Regions from separate parts of the Homo sapiens genome. Here all the other regions are linked to region 3. The links are contacts of gene promoters, found by promoter capture Hi-C in blood cells and fetal thymus (Javierre and others, 2016). All regions are on one chromosome and are shown on one strand. The core of a region is centred on a gene start or on the middle of the fragment in contact, and the rest is flanking DNA. Distances in the headings are between cores, read along the strand shown. Region 1 holds the start of KIF2A (kinesin family member 2A). Region 2 overlaps IPO11 (importin 11). Region 3 holds the start of SREK1IP1 (SREK1 interacting protein 1).

Region 1 (3,820 bases), core at 992-3,491, 2.5 Mb before region 3:
TTATATGGATTAAAGGTTAAGATTAACCATATAAACCACAGAGTGTAAGGTATGTGTCAGCAACCACGATACAAAATAATATTTTATTGGCTGGACGTGTTGGCTCACGTAATCTCAACACTTTGGGAGGCTGAGGCGGGAGGATCATGAGGTCAGGAGATCGAGACCATCCTGGCTAACACGGTGAAACCTCGTCTCTATTTTAAAAATACAAAAAATTAGCTGGGCGTAGTGGCACACGCCTGTAGTCCCAACTACTTGGGAGGCTGAGGCAGGAGAATAACTTGAACCTGGGAGGTGGAGGTGGCAGTGAGCTGAGATCATGCCACTGCACTCTAGCCTAGGCACGACAGAGTTAGACTTCGTCTCTAATAATAATAATAATAATATTTTATGAAACAATGTTAACTTTGAGCTGTATAGCTTGATTTCTTTGCATTCTTTATAAAGTATAAATAAAATATAAATAGATGTTTTATACCTCAGTTGCAGAGACATCAGAAAATGAATTCTAGACAGGAGCTTGAAGAGTTCAGATAAAACTCCCAAAATTATAGAAAAAATAAAAACTAAACCCTGATTTGGTCAAATTTCACTTGAAACCGGGGTACTCAAGTGTGTCATTTCTGGAATGTAAAAGAAGTTATTTTCCACATTGTCTATCCAGTGTGGTTTTTTTTCCATAGAAATTATATGCACTTTAGAATGGATTCAATAGAATTGTTCTTTTGACAGGTATACCTTCAATATGTTCAAGCTACAGATGAAGCCAGTCTTTTAACAGTTTTTTAAGGACCTACATGATTACTTACATTAGATAGAAAACTCTAGGCACACATATATCCACATAAGCATTGATGTATATATCCAGTTTCCAATTTTAAAATTTTAAATTGTATATTTGTAGTTATTGTTACAGGGAGATTATCAATGACTAGGGAAGGCCGGGCGCAGTGGCTCATGCCTGTAATCTCAGCACTCTGGGTGGTGGAGGCGGGTGGATTACCTGAGGTCAGGAGTTTGAGACCAGCCTGGCCAACATGGTGAAACCCCGTCTCTACTAAAAATACAAAAATTAGCCAGGCGTGGTGGCGCGGGCCTGTAATCCCACCTACTCGGAAGGCTGAGGCGTGAGAATCGCTTGAACACAGGAGGCAGAGATTGCAGTGAGCGGAGATCGCGCCACTGCACTCCAGCCTGAGCGACAGAGCAAGACTCCCCCTCAAAAACAAACAAAACAAAACAACAACAACAAAAAACAATGACTAGGGAAAGTAGGCCATGAAAAGTGTTGTTTCCAACCTATCAATTGCCAGTACTACAAGCAGGAGTTAGACGTTTGGAGGTTTTCACACGGTGCTATAAATACAGTTTCCAGGGCCCCGGTACACGTGGCCTTCCTGCTCTGCCAGGATGGAGAGTCTTGCTTTCCACATTGCTGATGTGGTCAGACTAATTAAATTATTGCAAAAAGACACATTCCCTAGTCAACCTTATGTGTCTGCCTTCTTCCCTTGAGTCACAGTTGTTGGCTTTACAGGCCAAGGCAAGTAAGTCTTGAACCCTCAGCAGAAACAGGGCACCAGCATCGGATGCCTCATAACCTGAACAGTTAAGGACGCCCCACCACAGAGCTTCTTTCTGAGTGTGATAAACTATAAGGCAAGACTGTAAAGGGGTGGATCTTCATTTCGATTTAGGGTAGGTGACACCTCAAGGGTGTTTCTTCCCTTCCAGCGTAACTGGATGGGAAACCTACACCAAGTGTGCTTGGGAGGGCTGCTTGGGTCAGCTACCTGTAAGTGGAAATAGGGGGTGCCACCTTCCGATGAAAACCCGGATCCCGTACTGTCAACGGAGGGCCCTTGAATTCACATCCCTCAGCCCGCTAGAAAGCCCCTGAAACCACGTGGCCTTTAACCCATTCCGGCAACAGCGCCAATTCCCGGAAGCGAGAGGGCAAGAAAGCTCGGCGCGACGCTTCCCGCGTCTTCTAGGCCGCGCGCTGAAATCAAACGCGACGCCGGCTAGCTGTGGGCCGGGCCGAGCGCTCAACGCTCCAGCGGCTGGGTAAGCCGCGGCCGCCGCCCACCCCGCTGCAGAGCTGGGCGGGGCCGCCTGGAGGCAGCGGGGAGAGGCCAGCCGAAAAGGAAGAAGAGACGCCGGAGGCGCGCTCTGCGCAGGCGCGCGGCGCCCCGCCTCCCCAGCGTCGGCTCCCCGGCGGGCGGTGCGGGCCCTCCCACTCTACCCCGCGCCGTCTCACGGCCCCGGCCCTAGCTTCACCCCGACTACCCGGCGTGCGCGTCCTCCTGCCGGCCTGCAGGCCCGGGGCCTCCGCCTGCTTCCCCACAGCTGCTCCTTGCGGCCCCGCTTGCGTTCACGCTGTCGCCCGGGCCGGCGCGGCCGCGGGCAACCGCTCCCCCTCCCACACCTACCCCGCCCCCTCCCCGCCTTTTCCGCCCTCCGGTCCCCCTCCCTCGGCCCGCTGCTGCTGCTCCAGATGAGGTGATGGCAACGGCCAACTTCGGCAAGATCCAGATCGGGATTTACGTGGAGATCAAGCGCAGCGATGGTGAGCCGCGCTGCCAGCCCCGCTGGCCCGCTCGGCCCCGTGTTCGGGTGTGCACGGAGGGGACGCGGGCGCCGGCCGCCTCATTGATTGCTTCGCCGGGCTGTGGGGGTGGGAAGGCGGCGGCCGCGGCGCTTTTGTGTGTGGCGTGTGTGCCAGTGAGGCCGGCTTGGGGTCCGCCCGGGCGCTGCTGCAGTTCTCCGGATCGGGCCGCGGGGGAGGGAAGCCGGGTGGGGAAAGGGCCCGGGTGTCGAGGGTCGCGTCTCCGGGGGTCTCTGGGCGAGGGCCGCTCGCTCCTCCTCCCGCAATCTCCAGCCCCCCCCCGGGGACACCAGCCCGGGAGGGAGCGGGCTTCGTTAGGGATGACCCTGCCTCGCGCTTCCCCTTGGTCTTTGCATTTTACCGGCTTGGCCTCTGACGGGGATGGGGATGGGGGTGGGGGAGCGGGAAGACCAGCGATTTCACATTTAGAGAACCGACTGCTGGTCGGAGGCCGAGATGGGGGGAAAGAGCCAGTTCCGTCGCCTTAAACTGCCGTCTGGTTGTCAGGCCTCCCCGGTTTCGTCGTCGACCATGCTGCTTTCTTTTTTGCCACTTCTTGGGAGAAAAATGTGGAGAATATCGCGCTGAGCCATGAATAAGGGTGGGGGAGCAATGGGAAGAAATATTCGATGGGCTTCTCCAAGGTGATGAGACTGTAAAGGGAATGATAGGGGATGGGCAGAGTCAATGCGAGGCACTGCTGAGAGAGTGGGGGTGGGCGACCGGATGTTGATATTTTCACACCCTCGGGAGAGGTAACTGAGAAAAGTGTAAGGCGAGGTGAAGACACATGCTTCATTTTTTTTTTTAAGAGCCTTAGGCTTATGTATCTTTCTCTAGGTTTCTCTTGGGGAAAATGGTTTATGACACTAGCTTGGGGTGTGGAGTGAGATACGCCAGCCAGACTGGAAATAATTCATATTGTAAAGGAATAAATGCACGGAGGGAGATAAGTAAAATTATTTTCTTTCGGTACCAATATTGAAAGAACGAGAGATGTGTGATAATCTCGAGTTGAGCAGTGTTCCTGACTCCATCTCTCATACCGATTCCTTTTTTTTTTTTTTTGAGACGGATTTTCACCCAGGCTGGAGTGCAGTGGTGCGATCTCGGCCCACTGCAACCTCCGCCTCCCGTGTTGAAGCTATTCTTGTGCCTCAGCCTCCTGAGTAGCTGGGATTACAGGCGTTGTCACCACACCCAGCTAAT
Region 2 (3,438 bases), core at 411-2,910, 2.3 Mb before region 3:
AGTGGGGAGGATTTTATGTTGAATATGTCTACTGTGATTTGCATTGTGTGTATGCAAGTGGTAGAATTCTGCAAAGAGATATTCTGGTAACAGAAGCAATGCCTGAAAAAAAAAAAAGAACAGTTTTGCCCCTTTGCTACCATTATTAAAAAAAATACTGTTTTTATTTTTTACAGACAGGGTTTTGTCTCCCAAGCTAGAGTTCAATGGTACACTCATAGCTCACTGCAACCTCAAGCTCCTGGGCTCAAGCAATCCTCCTGTCTCAGCCTCCTGAGTAGCTGGGATTACAGGCATGAGCCACTATGCCCGGCCACTATAAAATACTTCAGAAAAATCTGACACAATTTCAAAATATGTGGTTATGTAGGGTGGCAAATTCTCCCTTAATGTTTTCTTTCTTGAGCCTGTGCCTGTTTTATTTGGCTGACTCTTTTTTTTTTCTTTTTCAAGCTTAATCTTACTTTTAATTGAGGAACTAGGGGATAGTTACTGTCACCATCCTTTTTTTTTTTTCAGTGAGTCTGGCATGTAGTGGTAGTGGGGGGTATTGAGAATTAGATAAAAGGTCTATGGCTCTTACGACTAGTGAATGGGACTAGTTCTAATTTACACACATATATTACTTATATGTATATGAATATATGTGTATATATAAGAAAAACATTCAATTTATTTTTAGAGACAGTGTCTCACTCTTGTCCTGGCTGGAGTGCTGTGGTGTGATCATAGCTCACTGCAGCCCTGAACTCCTGGGTTCAAATGATCCTCCCACCTCAGCCTTGCAAGTAGCCGAGATTACAGGCATGTGCCACCATGTCCAGCTAATTTGTTAAGAAACATTTTGTAGAAAAAGGGTCTCACTTTGTTGCCTAGGTGGGTCTTCAACTCCTTACCTCAAGTGATCCTCTTGCCTTAGCCTCCCAAAGTGCTAGGATTACAGTTGTGAGATACCATGCCCAGGGTGTACTTTATATTTTGATATCAAAAGGTTTAAACAGGGCCAGGCATGGTAGCTTATGCCTGTAATCCCAGCACTTTGGGAGGCTGAGGCAGGAGGATCACTTGAGCCCAGGAGTTTGAGACCAGGCTGGGCAACACAGTGAGATCCTATCTCTACAAAAAATAAAAATAAATATATAAATTAACCTGGTGTGGTGCATCCCTGTAGTCCCAGCTACTCAGGAGGTTGAGGTGAGGGGATTGCTTGAGCCCAGGAGATTGAGGCTGCAGTGAGCCGTGATTGCGCCACTGCACTCTAGCCTGGGCAACAGAGTGAGACTCTTTGTCTCAAAAAAAAAAAAAAGTTTAAACAGAACTTAGTTATACCAAAAATGTTTATCTCTTTTATACAGTGCAGTTAATTGTTAGTTATTGTATTAAGAGACATTAGAGCATAGAAGATAATATATACTGATATACTGAACATACCTTTTACTTCTGTATTTTTTTTTTTTTTTAATGACAGAGTCTCGCTCTGTTACGCAGGCTGGAGAGCAGTGGGGTGATCTCAGCTCAGTGCAACCTCCACCTCCTGGGTTCAAGCATTTCTCCTGCCTTAGCTTCCCGAGTAGCTGGGATTACAGGCACGTGCCACCACGCCCAGCTAATTTTTGTATTTGTAATAGAGACGGCGTTTCGCTGTGTTGGCCAGGCTGGTCTCGAACTCCTGACCTCAGGTGATCCACCTGCCTCGGTCCCCCAGAGTGCTGGGATTACAGGCGTGAGCCACCGCATCTGGTCTATGTGTTTGTTTTTGGTGGTTTTTTTTTTTTTTTTTTTTTTTTTGAGATGCAGTCTTGCTCTGTCGCCAGGCTGGAGTGCAGTGGCGAGATCTCTGCTCTCTGCAACTTCTGCCTCCCGGATTCTCCCGCCTCAGCCTCCCGAGTAGCTGGGACTACAGACGTGTACCACCATGCCCAACTAATTTTTGTGTTTTTAGTAGAGACAGTGTTTCACGATGTTGGCCAGGATGGTCTCGATCTTTTGACCTTGTGATCCTCCTGCCTTGGCCTCCCAAAGTGCTGGGATTACAGGTGTGAGCCACTGTGCCCAGCTGGTTATTTTTTATTGTTGTTGTTTTCTTCGTTTTTTTTTGTTTGTTTTTGAGGCAGGGTCTCACTTTGTCACCCAGATTGGAGTGCAGTGGTGTGATCTCGGCTCACTGCAGCCTCCCTTCCTGGGCTCAAGGCATCCTGGCATCCTCCCGCCATAGCTCCCCAAGTAGCTGGAAGTATAGGCGCACCCCACCATGCCTGGTTAATTTTTTTTGTACTTTTTATAGAGACCGTGTTTCGCCATGTTGCACAGGCTGGTCTCCTGACCCCAGGTGATCATCTGCCTCTGCCTCCCAAAGCACTGACATTACAGGCATGAGCCATCGCGCCTGGTCTGAGCATACCTTTTAAATGAGTTCAAGTGACTTCAGATAATGGCGACACAAAAAATTTCAATATAAAGTCCTTTTAAACAATTTTAATCTATACAGACATTAATGTTAACAGGTAGTTTTAAGGAGATGCAAAGAAAAGCTATAAAATTACTCAAAATGTCGTTTTGTTGTAAGCAAGATATCGGTTTAAAGTATAATAGTTTTTTGGTCTTATTTGAAATTTGGATATGGCACCCTTTGAGTTTTTGTTTTCTTACAAAAAGACACAGTACAAAACGGATCTACAAATTATAGCCAAGGCTATAGATTTCATTTTTGGGGAGTTGAAATATTTGCTACAATAAGAAATTTTACTGTAGTTTAAAATTTAATTTTAGGTGTTTTGTAGAATTCTTACCTCTTCTGCGTCTAAATCCTTCTGTTCGTATTCTTTCACTTTCTTCTGACAAAATATTTTAATGATGTATGTGTTGGGAAAGCTTAGGGTGTTGTATATTACACAGTAAGTACAATAAAATTTAGGATGATAGATATTTTTTCAATTCTGGATATGTATTTCAGTCTTTTATTTTCCAAAAGGACTTACTAAGAAAAATACGAATTCATTTTATGGTTTACTGAAGTTATAAGTAAAGCATGCAAGTTTGTTGAAATAAAGCTTTTTTCCCACTTTTTAAATATTATTTCCCTTCTATCAGAGTGAATGTTTGCTTCTCTGCTATAATACTACTTCATGGGAAAATGTCACTTTCAAACTCTTTTTATGATACAGTGGTTTGTGTTGTAACACTATGAATTGAGAGAATGATCACTAAAGTATTTTGGCTGTAATAAAACATTAGTATTCAACAGTTTGATTTTACTCTTTGAAATATTGCATATATACTTGAGAATATGCTAAAGTAGCTTAATGAGTAGTCATTGTACCTGTTGTGAAGTATACACACAAGATGAGGAAGGGCCAAGGCATCCCTGACTGATTTAGTTTGTAAAGATACAGTGAACCACTTTTAGATTCAGGCAGTTCATTATTTAATTTGGATAGA
Region 3 (3,423 bases), core at 464-2,963:
TCCACAGAAAACATCTTTCATTCTGACATATTTGACACATAAATATTAGTCAATATTAGCTACAGCTACTACCTCTGTACTTAATTTCTCACTTATCTCCCATCTGTATTTGAGTTCCATCCATAGAAAACATCTTTCATTTCCTCTTTTCACATATTTCCTCTTCCTTTACGTATCCAGTTCCTCCGACTGCAGTCTCCTCTCCCTTCAAGCCACCCCTCCTACAATTCAGATCTCCTCCTAAGTGCTACCTCCTTTGGAAAGTCCTTCTGCCCATCCTGTATGTGTTTGGTGCCCTTACTTTGTGCTAAGGTCTTGTATTTTCCTTGCCATGGCACTTGTCCCACTTTCTGTAAATTTCTCTCTCTTCACTGCTAAATTCTAAGTTCTGTGTGAAGCGTAACCATGTCTACCTTGCTCACCACTGTATTTCCAATGCCCAGTACCAGTGCCTGGCACACAGTAGGCTTAATAAAGAGTGTACATTTCCTCTCTCACAGCTCCAGATGTACTCCTCCGCAAACTTCAGTTAGTACAAAAGCACAGTGTTCCAATAACAGCTATCTGTAGAAGGAGGTTCAAAAAGGCTGCCACAGAATAAAGAACCTGGTCAAATAATACTGGGAAGTGCAGGTTTAAACAAAGTTAGGGTTCTGAACCATAGTAATTCTATAGTTCATAGTAATTCTATAGCAATTCATAGTATTCTATTCTAATAGAATAGAATCTTTTCTATTACTAAAGTGCGCTGGGAATTTCCAAGTTGGGAGGTGGGGTGGAGAAGTGTGTATTTCTGAAAATGTCTCCTGCAATCAGTGTTCTGCAGTGGCAAAGCTGGTTTGAGGAGATGCTTTCCGCTACTAGAACTTCCAAGTAAGCTGGTAGTTGAGGACGAGAAAATCTTTTAAGTAATTATTCTGCAGAGTTCACCGTTTTTAGGTCAGTAACTTCTGGACATAGAATTTGAGAGTTAGAAGAAATCTTATATATAATTCAACAAAGCTCCTTCTTTTTATAAGGAAACTGAGGCCCAGAAGCACAAAGCGACCAATCTATGGCCACGGAGCAGCTACATACAACAGGAAGAGCTAGGAGTAGAACCCGCACACCCGGTGGGTCCTAGCGACTTCTAAGACAAACGATGCCTCCGGTTACCTGGGTCGGCCAAGTGTTCCCACTTCAAGTTTTAGTTTTAAGCCATACCACAGTTAAGGTAGTTTTTCTCGGCCGCTTGCCCCCTTAGGCCTACAGTTACAGTCTCTCCCTCCTCCCTCCCTTCCACAATACACTTTCCCTGTAATCCCAAGCAGCTGGGGCTTGGCTCCTGGGGGGAAGATAGTTATTTTCTTTCCTTCAGAGTTTATGTTTGGAGTGTAAACTTTTTCATGTAAACAAAACAAACCTGTGAATTTTAAGGCCTCCGCCTAAATCCCCATGGGCGCTGCTCCGTACACGCCGCACCCTACCCTACCCTCCCTTGCGCTCCCTTCGGAGCTCGGACGCAGAGGCCCTGTAATTGCTCCTTACCTGGGACTGCCATGACGGTGGTAAGAGGGGTAACTCGAGCCTCTGGCTTTCGAAAAGGCGCTTGCTTCCCGCCAGCTGTGAGAACAAGGCACAGTCAAAGCGGCGTTTTCCTTCCCCCAGCGCAGCAGCACCCTCGCTACGGTCGGGAAGGGCCTGTACGCCTCTAGCGACGGCAGAACCAGTAGATGCGGATGCAGTTTCCGGACGAGTCATATTGCAGAAGACACATGGTCCGAACCATTACTGATAGTTTTGGAGGGGGAGTTAGTTTGATCTGCACACGAGAGTAGTGTAAACACCGCCAACACTTATGAAGTGTCCCTTCTAATATTGTAATACAAATAACATAAATAACATTAAGCTATGGTAACTTTACGGACTTTTCTCGTTCCCTGGAGTACATTGGAATAACCCTTCTCAGGGTTAGCGGTGCTCGGGTCCGGTAACAACATGGCGGCGTCCGTGAGGGGCTCCTTTGGGCAGGGGTAGTGTTTGGTGTCCCTGTCTTGCGTGATATTGACAAACTGAAGCTTTCCTGCACCACTGGACTTAAGGAAGAGTGTACTCGTAGGCGGACAGCTTTAGTGGCCGGCCGGCCGCTCTCATCCCCCGTAAGGAGCAGAGTCCTTTGTACTGACCAAGATGAGCAACATCTACATCCAGGAGCCTCCCACGAATGGGAAGGTGAGAGCCTCATCTAGGGAACTTGGGGTCCTGGGATCCCCAAAGTGAGATTTCCCGGATTTGGGGTGGGGAGTGGGTTTCAGGATCTCGTGGTAGGAAGAGACCACGAGAAGTGTTGTCTTTACTCCTGCATGTGGACAATGTTGCATCGAAACACTGATGTTGGTACTTTTCAGGATGTACTTGAAGAAGTCAAGTGGAGATTTCTCTACCTACCAGCATTCCGGTCCTATTTAATGCTTTAACCCAACTCATGCAGCCGATTTCTGGGGTCTTAGGTTTTTAAACAGACATTTTTGAGTTTGATATATTCTTTGCTTAACTAAGGTCATTCATTCTCCATTTCTTCTACAATCATTAATTGAACGCCTGCGAGGCACTGGGCACTGTACTAGGCGCCGGAGATACAAAGATGGATGGGTAAGGTAGTTGTTTTCCCGGAAAAGCTTATAGTTTAGTTTGTGAGACAGACAGGTAAACAAAAGCCTGTATGTCTGATAAGCGTGCTTGTGGAGAAGAGACCAGGTTGCTATGGCGGTACTGAGTAGTGAACAACTGGGGAAGTTAGGAAAAGCCTCATGGAAAAGATATCTTTTGAGCTGGTTTTAAAACCTGAGATGACTGTCAGTCAGAGAAAGTGGGAAATGGGGACTATTACCACATTAGAATGGGGAAAGGTTTCTCTGATTGATTTGATGGCTAATGTATGCCAATTCCCATCCAAGATGTTTGTATGCTGTACAAGGCAGAAGAGTCTGTTGTGGAATAAGTGTCACCTGAATTCTTAAATTGAGACCTAGCTTATATCACATATGAAATTTGATGAATCAGCATATTGGAGAAAATGAGATTGGAAGTATATAGTTGAATTAAGATAAGCTAAATTTACACAACATACCATCCTGTTTGTTACATGATTGCATCATAAATAATTTATACAGTCTTTTATTCATTGACATTTGATAATGTAATGAGAGCAATTTAAAAGTGAAACCAAAAATGCTGTAATTCCCAGCAAAAATGTAATGGATATTTTATGGGCAGACCAATTCTTTCAATTCTTTGTTTGAACTTCTCCTGGGCATTGTAGATTAGTATGTCCATCCCACCCCTCACCTATCTTATTTAATATCAATGTGAAAACCCAAAATACCTACCTCCTCCTATTTCCAAATGTTTCTTGAGGGCAATATCACCCCCAGTTAATAAACA

Evidence for each region. Contacts are between HindIII fragments. The CHiCAGO score rates a contact against its expected background, and 5 or more counts as called.
Region 1: a contact is called between the fragment with the promoter of KIF2A here and the fragment with the promoter of SREK1IP1 in region 3, in 5 of 17 cell types (naive CD8 T cells, non-activated CD4 T cells, total CD4 T cells and 2 more). The highest score is 7.8, in naive CD8 T cells.
Region 2: a contact is called between a fragment that was not itself captured here and the fragment with the promoter of SREK1IP1 in region 3, in 3 of 17 cell types (naive CD4 T cells, naive B cells and total B cells). The highest score is 6.2, in naive CD4 T cells.

The regions. Positions count from the first base shown.
Region 1 is chr5:62,303,965-62,307,784 of GRCh38, forward strand. It overlaps KIF2A (kinesin family member 2A), which reads left to right and starts at 2,242. Exons shown (of 21, transcript NM_001098511.3): 1 at 2,242-2,572. The coding sequence starts at 2,509. RefSeq lists a silencer at 1,946-2,975. The HindIII fragment of the contact is 9,341 bases long and covers 1-3,820 here.
Region 2 is chr5:62,462,381-62,465,818 of GRCh38, forward strand. All of the region lies in intron 5 of IPO11 (importin 11), which reads left to right. Among named protein-coding and RNA genes, the nearest start is that of IPO11, 51 kb to the left of the region's middle. The HindIII fragment of the contact is 2,418 bases long and covers 452-2,869 here.
Region 3 is chr5:64,766,978-64,770,400 of GRCh38, forward strand. It overlaps SREK1IP1 (SREK1 interacting protein 1), which reads right to left and starts at 1,714. Exons shown (of 5, transcript NM_173829.4): 1 at 1,528-1,714. The coding sequence starts at 1,540. CWC27 (CWC27 spliceosome associated cyclophilin) reads left to right here and starts at 1,953. Exons shown (of 14, transcript NM_005869.4): 1 at 1,953-2,211. The coding sequence starts at 2,170. LOC124900985 (a long non-coding RNA gene) reads right to left here and starts at 1,519. Exons shown (of 4, transcript XR_007058787.1): 1 at 1-1,519. RefSeq lists enhancers at 998-1,724, 1,096-2,295, 1,447-1,536, 1,687-2,006, 1,725-2,449 and a silencer at 1,465-1,759. The HindIII fragment of the contact is 4,415 bases long and covers 1-2,055 here.